3 separate regions of the Homo sapiens genome follow, and all the other regions are linked to region 1. Evidence: promoter capture Hi-C in 16 types of primary human blood cells and fetal thymus (Javierre and others, 2016). All regions are on one chromosome and are shown on one strand. Each heading gives the region's core, a stretch centred on a gene start or on the middle of the fragment in contact. The rest is flanking DNA. Distances are from core to core; before and after follow the strand shown. Region 1 holds the start of ZNF527 (zinc finger protein 527). Region 2 overlaps LOC124904781 (a long non-coding RNA gene). Region 3 holds the start of ZIK1 (zinc finger protein interacting with K protein 1).

Region 1 (3,016 bases), core at 69-2,568:
AGTATACATCACCCCCTAATTTCACCCCCTAATTCTGGACTACTTTGCACTAGGCAACTCAGTCCCTAGCAGTTATTTCCTTAGTGTAGTGCAGCTTGAAATTGTCCATAAAAACTGCAGCAGGGCGCAGCGCCTCACGCCTGTAATCCCAGCACTGTGGGAGGCTCTGGTGGGCGGATCATGAGGTCAGGAGTTGGAGACCAGCCTGGCCAAACATGGTGAAACCTCGTCTCTACTAAAAATACAAAAACTAGCTGGGCGTGGTGGTGCGCGCCTGTAATCCCAGCTACTTGGGAGGCTGAGGCAGGAGAATCACTTGAACCTGGGAGGCGGAGGTTGCAGTGAGCCGAGATCGCATCATTGCACTCCAGCCTGGGCAATAGAGTGAGACTCCATCTCAAGAGAAAAAAAAAAAAAAAAGCGAGACCTCTAGAGCTAAACTGCTTGGGTTTGAGTTCTGGTGCTGTCACTTGTTAACTGTGTGAACTTGGGTAATTCTAATATTTCTGTGCTTCATACATCAATCCCACAATCTCATATATACACACAAATTCTCACCCAATCACAAATGTATAGAGTCACACAAACACACCCATAATCTCACACAATACACAGCCACATAAGCACAAAGATAGATGGTAACATACAACTACACCAACAGAGATAAACAATCACACACAATCACACACAAAGTAGCATACCACAGAAGTCACACATCTTGTCACAATTACTGATACAAAACTATACCTGCGGAGACAGATGGTCATAGTCGCACAATCACACTTGCTGTCACACACATTCAAACGCAATTGTATCCGCAGAAACAGGTGGTCACATAACCACACACATGCATTTACACAAACACACAATGTCACACCCCAGTCTCTCATAAACACATACACAGCTACACCTGCAGAGACAGTCACACACAAACACACATATTCACAGTTTCACCCCCAGACACAGATGGTTACAGTCACACACAAGCGGGCGCACGCGCACAAACACACACACACAGTGACACAAGATCACATTCTGTCACACCCGCAGCCTGTCACATAGTTGGTAATACAGTGAAACACACACGGCCTCCCCAGCGACTCCTGCCGGGTTCCCATCCCTGGCGCGGCCGGGCCACCCGGAGCCCGCCCTTGACTTCCCGCTCCCGCCCGGGGCCCGGCCCCACTCACCTCCCGGCGCCGCGGGCTCTGCAAACGGGCCCCGCGACCGAGACCCGCGACGTCACCTCCCAGAATCCTCCGCGAGGAGGAGCGAGGCGAGGACTGAGGCATGCAGGACTCTGAGCTCTGCGAGATCTGAACCAGCGACACCGCGTTCCCCATGGACCCCGCGAACCACGAGCCCCAGAACGCTTTGCGCCACGGCCGTCATCGTTGAACTACATCTCCCAGAGAACCCCGCGGCCCCCTCCACTGCGCGCCTGCGCCACGGGGGCAGGTACCGGAGAGGGCTGTGTGCGGTCGTAGGCTCTCCAGTGACCTTGAGCTGCTGTGTTGGGGAAAGCGGCCAGGCTGCGCGCGGGGCTGACTGGTTGAATGCTTGGGTGTGGTGGTTCGTGTGTGACTGTTGCTGCACACCTTTATGCTTGCCGACGAAAGGAGCGGCGGATTTTGTCAGTGCAGGGAGCTTCTGTATTTTAAATCACGTCCCGTGATTGTGGGTAGCTGAATGTGAAAGTGATTGTGGATGAAAGAGACTGTGGCTGACATTGGGGGTGACCGTTTCTGTTACTGTGAGGATACCACTGATCCGATGTGTATCTGACTGTCTCCTGGTCTTACTGTTCCTTCACCCCCATCTCCTGCCATGGGCGGGGTCTGTGGTATCTTTTATTGAGGCAATCTCGGCGCTCACTGCAACCTCCGCCTCCCGGGTTCAAGCGATTCTCTTGCCTCAGCCTCCTGAGGAGCTGGGATTACAGGCACCTGCCACCACGCCCAGCTAATTTTTGTATTTTTAGTAGGGATGGGGTTTCACCATGTTGGCCAGGATGGTCTTCATCTCCTGAACTTGTGATCCACCTGCCTCGGCCTCCCCAAGTGCTGGGGTTACAGGCATGAGCCATCGCACCCGGCCTATTTTATTATTATTATTATTTCTCAATTGGTCAAAATAATATATTTAACATTTTAATATTATTAAACATACAAAAGGCCACACTTTGGCCCTCCTCTAGTCAAGCAGTTTCCTTCCTGGTGAAAGTCCATAGGCAGAAACATGCCTGCAAAGATCTCACAACCTTCTTTCAGACCATGCTCTGGGTATCCAAATCCCCAGGATTTCCTGTTCAAATGGACTCCAGCCTGCTTCCAGAGCCTGTATCTCCTCTGTGTCCAAAGACCCTTCCCTTGATCTGTCTTCCAAAGGTGGAATGTGCTGCCTATCCACAAAATGTGGCCAAATGAGAGCAATTTGGTAAGGCTAGACAGAGCTTAGATATGCAAGCTGGAGTGTCCACATGTGGGAATAGAAGACCTCTTACGATGTGGGACAAGGATGGCAGTGGGAACAGAAGGGGACTGGCTGGGGACCTCCATCTGTACTGTTGACCCAGGTCTCTACATGTCAATGACAGGCTCATTTATGTATAAACTATTTTGGAGACCAATGGTCTTATGATGATGGTGGTTTGAATTAGGGTCATCACTGGAAGAGGCAATGAGAAATTGTCAGATTGGGATACAGTTTGAGTGTAGAACTAACAGAAGTTGCTGATGCTTGGTTGTGAATATAGGGAAAGAGAGAAGTTCAATATAATGCCTAAATGTCTTGAGCCCCTGGAAAAATGGTAGTGTTATTTACTAAGATAGGGGAAAATGAGTATGTGGCAGTTATCTAGGATGGGGTGGGTGGTGAGGTATCATGTTAAGTCGCAGATGCTTGTTGGATTTCAAAAGAGTGATATCAAGTAGGCATTTAGATATATGTGTGTGGAGCTCAGTGAAATGTTGGTACTAGAGATACGAATTTGGGAATTTCAATTAAGATGCTTTTA
Region 2 (3,503 bases), core at 278-2,777, about 20 Mb before region 1:
AGTTAATAATGGGAAATAACTGTTTGTTTGTTTTTTGTTTGTTTGAGACAGAGTCTCGTTCTGTCACCAGGCTGGAGTGCAATGGCGTGATCTCGGCTCATTGCAACCTCTGCCTCCTGGGTTCAAGCAATTCTTCTGCCTCAGCCTCCTGAGTAGCCGGCACTACAGGTGTGCACCACCATGCCCTGCTAACTTTTGTATTTTTAGTAGAGATGGGGTTTCACTATGTTGACCAGGATAGTCTTGATCTCTTGACCTTTTGATCCACCCACCTCAGCCTCCCAAAGTGCTGGGATTACAGGCATGAGCCACCGCACCCAGCCGGAAAATAACTGTTTAGACCCCACATAATATAGCAGGACTGCTATCCTCTAAGGGAAGTCTCTGGCTAACAGACAATTGCCTCTTCAAATATCAGGGCTTGCTGTTAGAGGGATCTACAGTCCAGTTAAAAACCTGTCCTTGCCTGAATCCAGCCACTTTCCCCAAAAGTAAACTGGAGAACCTGAACATGATTGTGAACAAAGAGTGATGCAAACCAGTAAAAAAAAAAAAAAGATAAGGATCATTGTTTATATTATCTGTAAAGTTTTAATTAGTAAAGAAGAATTTTATGAAAGAGCACTCAGCTTAATTAAAAGTGGATACCCAAGTTATAGGTGTCCTTGAAACGCCTTTATGTTTTTCTCTTCTTAGATCTTGTTTTTCTGGAAAAGGTTTGTATCTCAGTCAACTGAATTACTTTTCTCCACTCTGTCTTGCCAATCTTGGTGCATGCATGAAAGGCTCAAGGATGACTTCTGGTGGCCTTGGACTCCTTGAGAAAACAGACAAGGTGCCACAGATTCAATTTGGGGGAAATCTGTTTTCCTCATGGAACCCCAAGAATTAGAGATGGATAAATCCCTCTCAAAATCTGTTTTGGCCTTCGAGCTATGCCTGTTTATTAGGCCCCAGAAACTGCATGCTTTTGTAGCCTTATTCTTAAAGGGCTCCACCCTGAGCTGCTGGATCTTCTTCTGTCTGTGTAGTCATATATGTGTTGTGTGATGTCTATAAAAAAGAGCTGTAATTGATTGGCCTATAAGCACTTAGATCAAATAAAATTCTTTTTTTCCCAGACTGAGTCTTGCTCTGTCACCAGGCTGGAGTGCAGTAGTGCGATCTTGGCTCACTGCAACCTCCGCCTCCCAGGTTTAAGCAATTGCTCTGCCTCAGCCTCCCAAGTAGCTGGGATTACAGGCACGTGCCACCATGCCTGGCTAATTTTTTGTATTTTAGTAGAGATGGGGTTTCACCATGTTGGCCAAGATGGTCTCAATATCCTGACCTTATGATCCACCCACCTCAGCCTCCCAAAGTGTTGGGATTACAGGTGTGAGCCACTGCGCCTGGCCGATCAAATCTTTTTTGAAAGAATAGTAAAAACTGTAATTTCTCTTAGTTCATGTGACTTTAATCTTTAAAAATAAAACAGTCTTAGGGATTATTGGTAAAATACAAATGTACTCAAGATGTAAATATGTGGTCTAAATTATGCAGGTCAGATGGTAGGTTTGCTAAATGTTTTAAGGTTGTACTGCTCCTTTGGCCTTTAAGAACTGTTCAACTTGCCTGCTTCACAATGGGTAAAGTCTGGGAACATATGGAAGTAACCAAGCCCCTAACTTATTCTGGAAGGAGTTAAACTTTATCTGCACCCAGCAAATAATTAAAACAACTTACCAGGTTTTACACTAAAGTTAAAAATTGCTAAGAGGTAGGGCCAGGCGTGGTAGCTCACACATGTAATCCTAGCACTTTGGGAAGCTGAGGCGGACAGATCACGAGGTCAGGAGATTGAGACCATCCTGGCTAATGCGGTGAAACCCCATCTCTACTAAAAATACAAAAAATCAGCCTGGCATGGTGGCATGTGCCTGTAGTCCCAGCTACTTGGGAGGCTGAGGCAGGAGAATCGCTTGAACCTGGGAGGTGGTGGTTGCGGTGAACCAAGACTGTGCTACTGCACTCCAGCTTGGGTGACAGAGCAAGATTCCATCTTAAAAAAAAAATTGCTAAGAGTTACCATTATGACATGTAATTGAGACTACTGAATAGATTTACATGCAATGTGTGTAAAAACAGTAAAATGTGTTTTTTGTAAAAAATTATAAGAAGGCATGGCAATGTACGTTTTGCCTAGGGATAAAGAATTGTCTTAAAGTAGATAAAATACAACTGAAGGTTTAAGCAAACTGGGGAAAAAATTGTAAGAATTAATCTTGCAAAGGAAACTCTGTGTGAATATATTGACTACATTCAAAAGGGTATTATGTGGTTTTCTGTAAATTGAGCATTGAAATAAAAGCACAACAAAGAACTCTTAATGCATGAATCTACTCTTTAGCAAAATTTGTAAAGGGTTATAAAAGGTTTGTGAAAATCTCACCTCATTGTCAAACTGGTTAAGATTGGATAGAATTGCCTATAATTGTTTCATTAAAAATTGTGGTTGACATTAATAGTACACTAATGTAAGGGTGAAATTTGGCTTTCTCTCTCTTGAACACAATTTTCATGTAATAGTAAAGGCTAATGAAAGGTTTTTGCTTTTTCAAATTTTTGAGTCATCATTTTGGCAAAATAAATAACTTATAGTAATCTGGAATTCTAGTACATAACATCAAATATTTTAAGCCTGTTAACATATTTAACAGGCTTCCACAAATCAATTGTCTTTCTTGACACCTACGTTTTGGATGCTACAGAGGGTCCCTGGGGCATCCAGAAAAGAGGCAAGCAGGATTATTTGACATGTTTTGTTACATGGGATTGCCAAAATGATGTCTAATCTTCTTCAGGTTATATTTCAGCAAATACTATTAATATGTGTTCCAAAACTGCATGGGATTTAGAAAACTCTAATGTGAAAGTATACACTATCAACCACAATTAAGGTTGTTATGTTGTTATTGTAAACCACGGAGATAACCAAATTTTTTTTGTCAATCATGTTTTTGACTAACCACCCTGGACATTTTGTCATTTACAGACAATTGTTGTCTTGTTTTAATCCTCTTCAAAATATGGTTCATAATCAGATGTAGGAATACTTTAACAGGTATTCCTAAATGCAGGTTTCTGATAACTGAAAAACATACAGGACTCATGAAAAGCTAAAATGTTTATAAATATCAAGCAGAACAAGAGTTAACAGAATAGGCTGAACTAATAGAAAAACTGAAATAATCTTTTTGACTTTTGCTTGGAACATTGCTGATCCTTGTTTTGTTTTTCAGAGTCAAGGAAACTTCTTTTGAGCTAGCTACAGCCTTTAACAATTGAGTAAGGTTTACTCCTGAGAACAAAATTTGGAACATGTTTGTTTCTCTCTGCCTTATTGGTTCTTTAAGGACCACTGCAACATGGTCTTGGGAATTATACTTCAAGAAGCCTATAAGGTTAAAGGGTGTTTATACTCACAGTGATATAGGAATAGCACTGGGTGGTTGCAGGAGGAT
Region 3 (3,257 bases), core at 463-2,962, about 20 Mb before region 1:
TGTGCCTGTAGTCCCAACTACTCAGGAGGCTGAGGCAGGAGGATTGCTTGAACCCGGGAGGTGGAGGTTGCAAAGAGCCAAGATCGAGCCACTGCACTCCAGCCTGAGTGACAGAGTGAGACTGTCTAAAAATAGACAAATAAATAAATAAAATAAAAATAAAATCAATCCTATAACATGCTATTTGATGGAGATTCCATCCTTCCAGATGCTAAATTCAAAATGCCTGGAGTAATGCTTGACCAGTATCTCTTACCCTCAAAATCTGAAAATGCAAGCAGGCCTAATTAAAATTCTGACCCAGAATCCAGCCACTTCTTCTACCTTCACAGCCACCACACTGGTGAAGCCACTATCAAAACTCACCTTGGCCACTGCAGTAGCCTCCTCCCTGGTCTTTCTATCGCCTCCATCACACCCACAGAGTATTCTCTATGCTGCATTAACAGTGAACCTGATGAGACCAGTGTCAGATAACCTCCGTTCTCTTCTCTAAACCTCCCATTGTTCTCATCACCTCCAGAAAAAACACCCAATTTCTCAGAGCCATTCCAGGCCTGAGTCCTGCCCTGCTGCTCTGAGTTCCCATGAGAAAGAAAGGAGAGTTGTGTTTCCCTGAATCAGCTCAGCTTCACTGCCAACCTTACACATTATTGTACGTAGGCGGGGCAACCTTTCACACCTCATTCCATTGTCTGCCAGCAATAAGAACGTCTACAAATAACCACCAGTCTAGAATCAGGATGTCAAGCTTCCAGTTTGTGAAGAGTCCTTAGGTCAAAGAACTGGATGGTGGCAAAAAGATCCATGAAAAAACCCCAGGATGGGGCCAGGACCAGTGAGGGCCTGGGACACCCTCCACTCACCTTTGTGAGGTCCATATGTGTTTCTGGAGACACAGTAACCTGTGGAAAGCCAAAGATCATGAAAGGCAGGTGACCATACAGGGCTCTACGGATTCAGGCTTCCCTGGATTCCTGTCCAGGCCAGAGCCAGGTGGACTGAGGATGCCTGCATTATTTCTGAGCCTCAGCGTTCCAGTCCTCAGTGCCAACTCTTAGCAACTGTGGGACCTTGCACAAGAACTCAACCTCCCTGTGCCTCTGTGTTATTCCATTCTATTCTAGTCTAACTCCATGAGGTTTTTGGAAAACTTCGAAAGACCTAACTCAGACCATATGCCGCTTCTGTACACAACCCTCCACGGCTCCTAGCATCCTAAGAATTGAGGGAAAACTCCTCACCTTGGCACTCCAGGTATGAACCTTCTTCACTGTGTCTCCAAGAGTTTAGAAACGCTGGTCCCTTTGCCTGTAACCCTCTTCCGTGCCCCATCACCCAAGTTCTGGAAATAGGGACCCCACCCACGAGCCCCCACTGTACTGGACATGAGGATCTCGACCGTAGTGACCCAAGAAGGCACTAATTTGGGGATGGAGGGTGAGGCCCAGTAGAGGCAGCGCTCACCTGAGTCGGGGCCCTCAGCGCGGCCGCAGCCATCGGAGTCTGTGGGCAGAGCGGGGCCGGGACCCGACAGCTACGGGCGGAGGGACCTAGGCAAAGCCGTCAACCCCGCCGCCGCCGACCCTTAGAACCCCCACTGTTCAGCGGGAGGACCCCTCCCCTCGCGCCTTCCGACTGTCGCCAAACAAAGCGCTCCCAAAGCTCTGACGGTCTGGATGCACCCAAGCGCTGCAAAAATGACCGCCACTGAAGTGATACCGGAAGTCCCTCCCCGACCCATTGGTCCCAAAGCGGAAACGACCCTTTTCTCAGCGCGGATTGGCTCAGCATCCCTGCGGCTGGAGACAAAACCTTCTGGGTTCTGTAGTCCCCGCTGGTCCCCAGGGCTGAGGGAAGGATGCTGCCGCCCAGCGTCACCTCAAACAAAAGCCAAGCGGCCGCGCTGGGGGCGCAGGGAAATGGCGTCGCCACAATGCAGGAGAGGGCTGGGCCTTGTCGCTCCTTAAACAGGCCGCTGGTCGATTTCTGTGGTCCCGTCGCGGCTGAGCGCCCACGTGATTAGAAGCATTGATTCAGGCTCAGGAAGCTGAGGCCAGATCCACACCGACGCGTATTCCATACGTATTCGACGCTCCTGCGGGAGCAAAGGAGCCTCGTGCCCCTCCCTTGCGGGGTCAAGGCGTTCGAGGCCGTGCCGGGGCCAAGGCTATTCTGTGAAAGGAGCGACTTAGGTGTCGCGCTGTGGGCACGTGTCCCGGGAGGCCACGTGGGGGCCGCGCCCCCGGCTGCTCCTGCTCTGACCTGAGCCCTTTGACTGTACCCAGAGGCGGGAGGCGGGGCCGAGACGTCCCATGGGAAGGGGTTCTCCGTAGCTCCACCCCGGGGGACGTCTCCTCCAGGGGGGCCGGGCGAGCTGGGAAGGCCCCAGAGCCGCCGAGGAAAGCGCCTCTGCTTCCCTGAGTCCCCTCCTGGGTCTAGGAGCCGTTCCTGCGTTTTCTGACGCCCTCTCCACCGCCCCTCGGCTGAGAACTGGGTCCAGATGAGCCTTGGACCCCGTTGAAGACGTCTCCTACCTCATCTCCCACACCTGCTGGGACCATCTCCAACCGCCCTCAGGGCAGTAGGGAGGTAGGCGGGTTCCCAGGGCACCCCAAGCGGTGGCGTACAGTGGTAGGAACAAGGCCTCTGGAGCCCAAGAATGGGATTTAGTCCCCGAGGGGAAGTCCATGCTCTGCCTTACAGCGGCTGGTATGGGCTTCTGGGGGCACCCTGAGACTCGGCCTGTAGGGATACTCATAATGGCCTCCATGAAGGTGCAGGTTTAACCACTGGACCAGTCTCATCTGGCCATCCTCTGTTGGTAACATAATGTCCAGTTATTTTGCAGGCACAGAGCTAAAGAGTTGCAAGTTACACAGCTAGAGAATGTGCAGAAAAGAAAATGTCAGGCCCAGCGCGGTGGCTCACACCTGTAATCCAAGCACATTGGGAGGCTGAGGTGGAAGGACCACTTGGGCAACATAGCCAGACCCCGTCTCTACAAAAACTAAAAAATTACCCGAGTATGGTGGTGCACCTGTAATCCTAGCTACTCAGGATGCTGAGGTGGGAGTATCGCTTGAGCCCAGGAGATCACGGTTACAGTGAGTTATGATTATGCCACTGCACTCCAGCCTGGGCAACGGAGCCAGACCCTGTCTCAATAAATAAATAAGTAAATAAATAAATAAATAAAAAGAAAAGAGAAAAGAAAACATTGACCCAACACTCGGAGCTGAAGTCTCACCTACCAG

Evidence for each region. The method cuts DNA at HindIII sites, captures the fragments that hold promoters and counts their contacts. A CHiCAGO score of 5 or more calls a contact.
Region 2: a contact is called between a fragment that was not itself captured here and the fragment with the promoter of ZNF527 in region 1, in 1 of 17 cell types (monocytes). The highest score is 6.8, in monocytes.
Region 3: a contact is called between the fragment with the promoter of ZIK1 here and the fragment with the promoter of ZNF527 in region 1, in 6 of 17 cell types (monocytes, non-activated CD4 T cells, naive CD4 T cells and 3 more). The highest score is 22.9, in monocytes.

The regions. Positions count from the first base shown.
Region 1 is chr19:37,369,401-37,372,416 of GRCh38, reverse strand. It overlaps ZNF527 (zinc finger protein 527), which reads right to left and starts at 1,318. Exons shown (of 5, transcript NM_032453.2): 1 at 1,191-1,318. RefSeq lists a silencer at 919-1,228 and enhancers at 1,259-1,568, 1,739-1,788, 1,809-1,948. The HindIII fragment of the contact is 7,295 bases long and covers 1-3,016 here.
Region 2 is chr19:57,561,178-57,564,680 of GRCh38, reverse strand. LOC124904781 (a long non-coding RNA gene) reads right to left here. Exons shown (of 2, transcript XR_007067357.1): 2 at 572-817. It also overlaps a transcript of ZNF550 not described here. Among named protein-coding and RNA genes, the nearest start is that of ZNF550, 3.1 kb to the right of the region's middle. The HindIII fragment of the contact is 5,328 bases long and covers 1-3,503 here.
Region 3 is chr19:57,582,600-57,585,856 of GRCh38, reverse strand. It overlaps ZIK1 (zinc finger protein interacting with K protein 1), which reads right to left and starts at 1,712. Exons shown (of 4, transcript NM_001010879.4): 1 at 1,468-1,712; 2 at 867-905. The coding sequence starts at 1,500. RefSeq lists enhancers at 1,876-1,975, 1,672-2,203. The HindIII fragment of the contact is 4,281 bases long and covers 754-3,257 here.